Regions from separate parts of the Homo sapiens genome. Here region 1 is linked to region 2. Evidence: promoter capture Hi-C in 16 types of primary human blood cells and fetal thymus (Javierre and others, 2016). All regions are on one chromosome and are shown on one strand. Each heading gives the region's core, a stretch centred on a gene start or on the middle of the fragment in contact. The rest is flanking DNA. Distances are from core to core; before and after follow the strand shown.

The links. The method cuts DNA at HindIII sites, captures the fragments that hold promoters and counts their contacts. A CHiCAGO score of 5 or more calls a contact.
Region 1: a contact is called between a fragment that was not itself captured here and the fragment with the promoter of ZFAND2A in region 2, in 2 of 17 cell types (total B cells and naive B cells). The highest score is 7.8, in total B cells.

Annotation. Positions count from the first base shown.
Region 1 is chr7:972,971-977,335 of GRCh38, forward strand. It overlaps COX19 (cytochrome c oxidase assembly factor COX19), which reads right to left and starts at 2,579. Exons shown (of 3, transcript NM_001031617.3): 1 at 2,458-2,579; 2 at 211-322. The coding sequence starts at 2,539. RefSeq lists enhancers at 1,802-2,684, 1,984-2,053, 2,685-3,565 and silencers at 2,294-2,453, 2,474-2,753. The HindIII fragment of the contact is 5,464 bases long and covers 308-4,365 here.
Region 2 is chr7:1,157,948-1,162,051 of GRCh38, forward strand. ZFAND2A (zinc finger AN1-type containing 2A) reads right to left here and starts at 2,249. Exons shown (of 5, transcript NM_182491.4): 1 at 2,017-2,249; 2 at 211-310. The coding sequence starts at 265. It overlaps ZFAND2A-DT (ZFAND2A divergent transcript), which reads left to right and starts at 2,427. Exons shown (of 3, transcript NR_110069.1): 1 at 2,427-2,676. RefSeq lists enhancers at 1,351-1,865, 1,866-2,378, 2,379-2,892, 2,893-3,405 and silencers at 2,188-2,727, 2,738-2,787. The HindIII fragment of the contact is 3,271 bases long and covers 1-2,697 here.

The DNA of each region.
Region 1 (4,365 bases), core at 1,790-4,289, 180 kb before region 2:
CTCAAGAAGAGGTTCCCAAGATTGTGAAACAGCTTTTGGTACAATTTCATCTGATAAGCCTCCATTTCAAGGGCAAACAATTCCACAGTCCTGAAAAACACAAGCTGAATCCCAGGCCTGAAAAAGACACACTGTAATGGCCTTTCAGGAAAAAAAAAGTTTTAATTGGAGTAGTGGGAGGTGGAAATCATAACGCTTAGCTGTACTCACCTCTCCATCCTGCATTCTAAATATTCTTTTGATTCCTTTCTGCACAAAGCATTTTCAAAATTATTGTTATGAAGACACTTCATGAATTTCTCTTTAAAGCTTTTACATTCACCTAGAACGAGAAAGAAAACAGCATGTTCTTTTCAGAGTGAAAAGTGATGCAACCACACAACAGCCTTAAGAGCTGCGCTGCTTTTCCTTTCAAAACTTGTTTCCTCAGGCCGGGCGCAGTGGTTCACACCTGTAATCCCAGCACTCTGAGAGGATCACCTGACCCCAGGAGTTTGAGACCAGCCTGGGCAACACAGTGAGACCCCCATCTCTACCAAAAAAAACCTTAAAAGTTAGCTAGGTGTGGCGCACGTCTGTGGTTCCAGCTACTCAGGAGGCTGAGGCAGGAAGATCGCTTGAGCAAAGGATTTCGAGGCTGCAGTGAGCTTGATCACACCACTGCACTCCAGCCTGGGCAACAGATCAAGACCTTGTCTCCTAAAAATAATCCAGGCTGGGCACGGTGGCTCACGCCTGTAATCCTAGCACTTTGGGAGGCAGAGGTGGGCGGATCACCTGAGGTCAGGAGTTCAAGACCAGCTCGGCCAACTTGGTGAAACCCCATCTCTATTAAAAATACAAAAATTAGCCGGGCATGGTGGCGGGTGTCTGTAGTCCCAGCTACTCGGGAGGCTGAGGCAGGAGAATTGCTTGAACCCAGGAAGCGGAGGTTGCAGCGAGTCGAGATCACACCACTGCACTCCAGCCTGGGTGACAGAGTGAGACTCCATTTCAAAAATAAATAAATAAATGATCCAGCCTGGTCAACATGGGGAAACTCCATCTTTAAAATAAAAAATAAAAAAACAATAATAATTAGCTGGGTGTGGTGTTGCACACCTATAGTCCCAGCTACTCTAGAGGCTGAGACAGGAGAATCGCTTGAACCCGGGAGGAGGAGGTTGCAGTGAGTCGAGATCACACCACTGCACTCCAGCCTGGGCGACACAGTGAGAGTCCATTTCAAAAATAAATAAATAAATAATCCAGCCTGGGCAACATGGGGAAACCCCATCTCTAAAAAAAAAAAAAAAAAAAAAATTAGCTGGGTGTGGCGCTGCACACCTATAGTCCCAGCTACTCTAGAGGATGAGACGGGAGACTCCCCTGAGTCCAGAAAGGAAGGAGGCCGAGGCTTCAGTGAGCTATGATTGCACCACTGCACTCCAGCCTAAGCAACAGAGTGAGACCGTGTCTCAAAACAAAAACAATCAAACCCAAACTTGTTTCCTTCATAAACATGCTGAAAACAACAATGGAAAAAACCCACAACGAGGTAAAGTCAGCCCAGTACGAGGTTAAGGTGCAATGTAGGTGATGGTCACAGGAGAGTTCAGGGTAAAAATTCTTTCATTTTTGCTATTTGAAAATGTCACAATAAAATGTTGGGAAAGAAACAGTAATTCACAGATCGTTTTTCTTTTCTTTTCTTTCTTTTTTTTTTTGAGACGTTGTCTCACTCTGTCGCCCAAGCTGCAGTGCAGTGGCCCGATCTCGGCTCACTGCAACCTCCGTCTCCCGGTTCAAGCGATTCTCCTGCCTCAGCCTCCCGAGTAGCTGGGACTACAGGCGAGCCACATCACACCCAACTAATTTTTGTATTTTTAGTAGAGACGGGGTTTCCCCATGTTGGGCAGGCTGGTCTCGAACTCCTGATCTTAAATGATCCGCCCACCTCGGCCTCCCAAAGGGCTGGGATCACAGGCATGAGCCACCGCGCCCGGCCCACAGATCCTTTTTCGAAGCCTTCATGTCCACGGAGGCAACCCCACCGGAATACGGCCAGAAGCACTGGGAGATCAGCAGCACTTTTGAGCTTTGCAGCAGACATCGCTAGGCACCGTCTAAGCCTCGGCTGCAGCTGCGGGCTTCGTGGCCGCCGAATGCCCCGCTCTGCAAACCCGGGGCACAGACAGCCCGCCGGGTGAGTCAGGGCGGAGCCGGAGACCCGGAAGCCTGACGCAAGGAGTCGGTGTCGCTGCCCTCGTCACGGGGGCCACGGTCCTGCCAGCTCCCACCTGCAGGGTCCATGCCGCAGCAGTGACCCAGGGCTGGGTGGGGCGGAGGGGCGGGCCGCCGTGCCTCAGTTTCCCCGCCTGCACCGCGCTAGATGCCGGCACCCCATAGGGCTCCGCGCTGGGCCGCGACCCAGACCCCCCATCGCAGACCCCTGCCCGCCGACCTTCCGCCGCTCACCTAAGTGATCCAGCGGGAAGCTGCCCTTGTCCGGGGGCCGCGGCTGGAAGCTCTTGGTCCCGAAATTCATGGCGGTCGACATGTTGGCGACTCCGGAGTCTGCGAGCGCCTTGCGAGCGTACGCAGGGCGGCCGGCGGAGCGCCGAGCAGGCACCCCGGGAGCGCCGAGCACGTCGAGCAGGCCCCGTCCCCGCCCCTTGCCCAGGCCCGGCCCCACCCCTTGCCCAGGCCCGGCCCCACCCCCTCGGAGTCAGCAAGCTCCTGAGCCCCGGTGGGCGCTGCCCGGGCTTTCCCGTCCCCTGGGACCCTCACAGCAGTCGGTAGCAGAATCAGCTTTTGGAATTGGTGAGAAACCGAGGCCCAGAAAGGTTCAGCGAATTGCCCGAGGACACATAGCGGTGCCGGCGTCTCTGCATCCCAGGTGTCTGCTGGGGCCTCGGTTTCCCCATCGCACAGAGACCTCATCACGGGGCCCATCCGGGGAGGAAGGCGGCACAGGAGGGACAGGAGAGCCTGTGGACTCGCTGCCTGCGGCTGCTGGAGCCAGGTGACACCACCGAGCAGCTTCAACAACAGGAATGTGCTCTCAGTCCTGGGGTCTGGAGTCCAAGCAGTGGGCAGAGTGGGGGCCCTGGGGACAGTCCCAGCCTCCCAGCTTCTGGGGGCCGCCAGCCTGTGAGGTTCCTTGGCTTGCAGAAGCACCACCTGGTCTCGGCCCCTACGTTCCCATGGTGTCCTGCGCATGTCCAAATTTACTATTTTTATTTATTTATTTGAGACAGGGTATTGCTCTGTTGCCCAGACTAGAGTGCAGTGGCATGATCACGACTCACTGCAGCCTCGACCTCCTGGGCTCAGCGATCCTCTCACCCCAGCCTCCTGAGTAGCTGCGACCACAGGCACACACCACCACACCAGGCTAATTTTTCTATTTTTCGTAGAGATGGAGTCTCCCTATGTTGCCCAGGCTGGTCCTTAACTCCTGGGCTCAGGCAATCCTCCTGCCTCAGCCTCCCTAAATGCCGGGATTATAGGCATGAGCCACCATGCCCAACCTAAATTTCCTCTTTTTATAAGGATAGCAGTCATGTTGGGTTAGGGGCCGTCCCAATAACTTCATCTTAACTAATTATATCAGCAGCAACCCTATTTCTTTGTTTTGTTTTTTAAAACGGAGTCTCTCTCTTGTTGCCCAGGCTGGAGTACAGTGGCTCGATCCTGGCTCATTGCAACCTCCACCTCCCAGGTTAAAGCAATTCTCCTGCCTCAGCCTCCCGAGTAGCTGGGATTACAGGCGCCACCAACACACCCAGCTAAGCTAATATATTTTTTTTCAACACAGAGTCTCACTTTGTAACCTAGACGGGCGTGCAGTGGTACGATCTCGGCTCACCGCAACCTCCACTTCCCGAGTTCAAGAGATTCTCCTGCCTCAGCCTCCAGAGTAGCTGGGATTACAGGCATGCGCCACCACACCCGGCTAATTTTTTGTACTTTTCGTAGAGACGGGGTTTCACCATGTTGCCCAGGCTGGTCTCGAACTCCTGACCTTAAGTGATCCGCCCACTTCAGCCTCCCAAAGGGCTGGGATGACAGGCGTGAGCCGCCGCACCTGGCACCTATTTCCAAAGCAAAGGTCACATCCTAAGGTCCTAGTGGCTTCACCATACGAATGGGGGTGGAGGGTAGTTACAGCTCAACCTAGGGCAGAATGAAAGTGTACTGTAAGCGGTAAGGCCCGGCCTTTGCGTGTCGATGTTGTCATGGCAACAGCAGTCGTGGGAAAGGGCTCAGTGAAGACCCCAGCGTCCACCCGCGGAGTCTCTCCCAGCCCTGAACCTGTACCCACATGCCCTGGCCATGAGGAAGTCGAACACTGGCCCGTTTAGAGCACCATGGGCGGCCCAA
Region 2 (4,104 bases), core at 999-3,498:
CCCCCTGGATCCACCTGGCCCTGCTAGCCAGCCTGCACTCCTGCACCCAGCCTCTGGTGGATGCTAAGTGTCAAACAGAACCTGCACCAGCACAGTTCCCAATACTGAGGAGCCAGGAAGGCCAAGACACAATTATCAGCTAATTAACAGAACAGCCAGCTTTCCCCCAACAAAATACCATTTTCTATTAAGTCTCTTAAAAGTACTCACCTAGCTGCTTGCAAGTCTTTTCTGAACAATGCTTCCCCAAATCAGGAAACTCCATTATGAGAACAGTGCTCAAAACGCAGATGGCGGAGTTAAGTGTCACCTACAAGAGAATCAGAATAGTTAGGAGGAAAGCTGGACTGCCCTTCAGTCACCAGGATTTACAATGTAATTACAGCTAATGAAAGTCAACAAACGCACTGTGTGGGGAGCATTCCATGGAGTTTTAGTACAAATACCAGGTGTCCGCCATTCGTAGTCAACCCCATTAAGAGACACGGACTCCTTCACAGGCCTTTTAATTCCTAGTCTATGAAGCACTCCTTGAACTCGGGTTTCTATTTAAACTCACACTGAGGGGGCGAGAGCTAATTCACACAGCTGCCAGTGATGATTACGACTTTGGTGAATTTTAAGTCACAATTTTATCCATGGAATATACTTGTTCACATAAACAAAACTCTGTTACTAGGTGCTAAATCACATCAGTTGACTCCATTATCCAGAGAAGATTTAACTCTGTCCCTCGCCTCTCTCTTCAACTCCCTTAGGCATTGAATCTTACTGTGAACTTATTCCTCGATGACATCAACCTGGAGTTGATCAGGGAGAAGCGCAAGCTGTTAAGTCACTATGGAAAACAGGCAGACAGCTGGTGAAACTACCGCACTCGAGAGAGAATCAAGGGGCTCACGAGGTCCCCTCCATGATCTAGTACCCACCAGCCCTCCCGGGGCCTTTTCCTGGGGCTCACGAGGTCCCGTCATCTAGTACTCACCAGCCCCTCCCGGGGCCTTTTCCTGACCTTCCCATCAGCTCTCTCCCCACTCCTGGAGGCCTCCTAGACTGTCGCCTAAGACTGGAACACTCTCGCCCATGGCAAACGTCTAGTTATCCCCTCCCGCCTCAGTTTAAAGCCATTCCCACCCTCCCCAGTTCCCTCTATGTTACACGCCCGCTACTTAAGGTGCCCATTAGTCCTTTCCCAGCCCTCCTTCGCCCACAGCTTCCAACTACAGATCCGCTGCTTTACTATTAGCTCCCGGTGCCCGACACACAGCAGGCGTTCCGAAATTGTTTTGTTCAAGGAATTCACAAGAGTTTGATGTGAATCCCCAAATGATTTTGTTCTGGACGCACAGCACCCGTCCTAGGAAACCAACACCCTACCCTGGCGGGCCGGGCCCGCAGCAAGAAAACACACATCTACGTGGCTGTCACTCGGCTGGCGGGTTAACGACCCCGTGCGACCCGGTACTACGGCCCCGATGGCAGGCCCGGCCCCCAGCAGACAGCCGGACTCCCAGCAGACAGGCCGGACCCCCAGCAGCCAGACCCCGGCAGGCCCGGTCCCCAGCAGACAGCCGGACCCCCAACAGCCAGACCCCGGCAGGCCCGGTCCCCAGCAGACAGGCCGGACCCCCAACAGCCAGACCCCGGCAGGCCCGGTCCCCAGCAGACAGGCCGGACCCCCAGCAGCCAGACCCCGGCAGGCCCGGTCCCCAGCAGACAGGCCGGACCCCCAGCAGCCAGACCCCGGCAGGCCCGGTCCCCAGCAGACAGCCGGACCCCCAACAGCCAGACCCCGGCAGGCCCGGTCCCCAGCAGACAGGCCGGACCCCCAGCAGCCAGACCCCGGCAGGCCCGGTCCCCAGCAGACAGGCCGGACCCCCAGCAGCCTGACCTCCAGCAAGCAGCCGGACTTTCAGCAGCCGCACTCCTAGCAGACAGGCCGAACCCCCGAGCAACCTGACCTCAAGGCAGGCCCGACCCCCGGCAGACCCTGTCTGCGCAATCCCGGCCCCGTACCTGGCTCTCGTCGGGGACCCAGGCAGCTGAGGTGAGCAGCAGATGGAAGAGACGTAAACTCAGGTGTCCTCCTCCGTAGTCGGCTCCGGGTAGCTAAGCAGAAAGAACCTCGACACTGGCACCGAGACGCCGTCGGAGGCACACCCACACCCACACCGGAACGCAACATCTCGCTGCCCGCGGCCTACGGGGATTTATCCGCAGCCCCCGGATCTGAGAGCCGTCTGGGCCTTGGGGTTTCCGGGCGCGCCCCGACAACGTCACCCGCAGACCGGCCAATCCCGCCAGGCCGCGGCCCAGTGGCGCCGGCGCACACCGAAGACGACACCAGCCATCCGGCCAATCCCGCCCCGCCGCGCCCCGCAGGCCCGCCCACTCCTCGCTTCTCCACTTCCCTTCTCGAAGTGTCCGGTCGCTTCTCGCAGGCGGCGCGCTTGCTGGGTCACAGTGAGGCGGCTCCGCGCAGGCGCAGCCGGGCGGGCGAGGAGCGGGGAAGCTGACTCAGGGCTGCGGCCGGGGTCCTGCGGGGTAGGAGCGCGAGGCCGGCCTGAGGGAGGAGGCCTAGCGACCCATCCGGCGCCTCCCGCCCCGGGCACCCGCCCGCGGCCGCGCATCCTGCGGGCCCCAGGAGGCCTCCATCTCAAAACAACGTGTTTTTAGGTAATTTCAAACTTAGGGAAAAGCTTCAAGAATAATACCGAAAATGTCAGTGTCCCCAGCACCTAGATCCCCCAGTTAAATCCTTTTCCATTTCACCGCGCTGCCCCCCGCCCCCTGGACGGTTATGTGGCCGCGTGGGGTTGGCTCTGCCCAGGGCCGCGGTCACTGCACAGAACGCCCTGCACGTAAGGGGCTCCGCCTGGGTAAGACCCCGCCCAGCTGGGCAGGAGGAGGGCGTGGGCCCAGGACATGGAGACCAGCCTGGGCAACATAGCGAGACCCCATCTCTGCAGAAATAAAATATTAGCCGGACGGTGCACGGTGGCTCAGGCCTGTAATCCCGGCACTTTGGGAGGCCGAGGTGGGAGGATGGCCTGAGGTTAGTGTCTCACATGTCTGTGTGAAGAGACCACCAAACAGGCTTTGTGTGAGCAACAAGGCTGTTTATTTCACCCGGGTGCAGCCCGGCTGAGTCGGAAAAGAGAGTCAGCAAAGGGCGATGGGATTATCATTAGTTCTTACAGGTTTTGGGATAGACGGTGGAGTTAGGAGCAATGTTTTGCAGGCAGGTGGTGGATCTCATAAGGTACATTCTCAAGGGTGGGGAGAATTACAAAGAACCTTCTTAAGGGTAGAGGAGATTACAAAGTACATTGATCAGTTAGGATGGGGCAGAAACAAATTACAAGGGTGGAATGTCATCAGTTAAGGCTGTTTTCACTTCTTTTGTGGATCTTCAGTTGCTTCAGGCCATCTGGATGTATACATGCAGGTCACTGGGGATATGATGGCTTAGCTTGGGCTCAGAGGCCTGACAGGAGTTCAAGACCAGCCTGGTGAACATGACGAAACCCTGTCTCTACAAAAATAAGAAATGAACGCAGCATGGTGGCATGCACCTGCAGTCCCAGCCTCTTGGGAGGTGGAGGCATAAGTCAGCTGTGAATGCGCCCTGCACTAGAGCCTGGGCAGCAGAGCAGACCCTTCCTCAAACCCAAAAAGCGTCGTGCCAACCAGACCAGATGGTCGCCTAATCAATAGAGACCATGCCCAATCAGGTAAGGACAGACACAACCAGGCATGCTTTTTCTTGTTTTGTTTTTTGTTTGTTGTTTTGAGATGGAGTTTCACTCTTGTTGCCCAGGCTGGAGTGCAGTGGTGTGATCTCGGCTCACCGGAACCACCACCTCCTGGGTTCAAGCGATTCTCCTGCCTCAGTCTCCCAAGTAGCTGGGATTACAGGCATGCACCACCAGGCCCGGCTAATTTTGTATTTTTAGTAGAGACGGGGGTTTCTCCATATTGGTCAGGCTGGTCTCAAACTCCCAACCTCAGGTGATCTGCCTGCCTCGGCCTCCCAAAGTACTGGCATTACAGGCGTGAGCCACTGCGCCCAGCTTGTTGTTTTTCTTTAGACAGTGTCTTCCT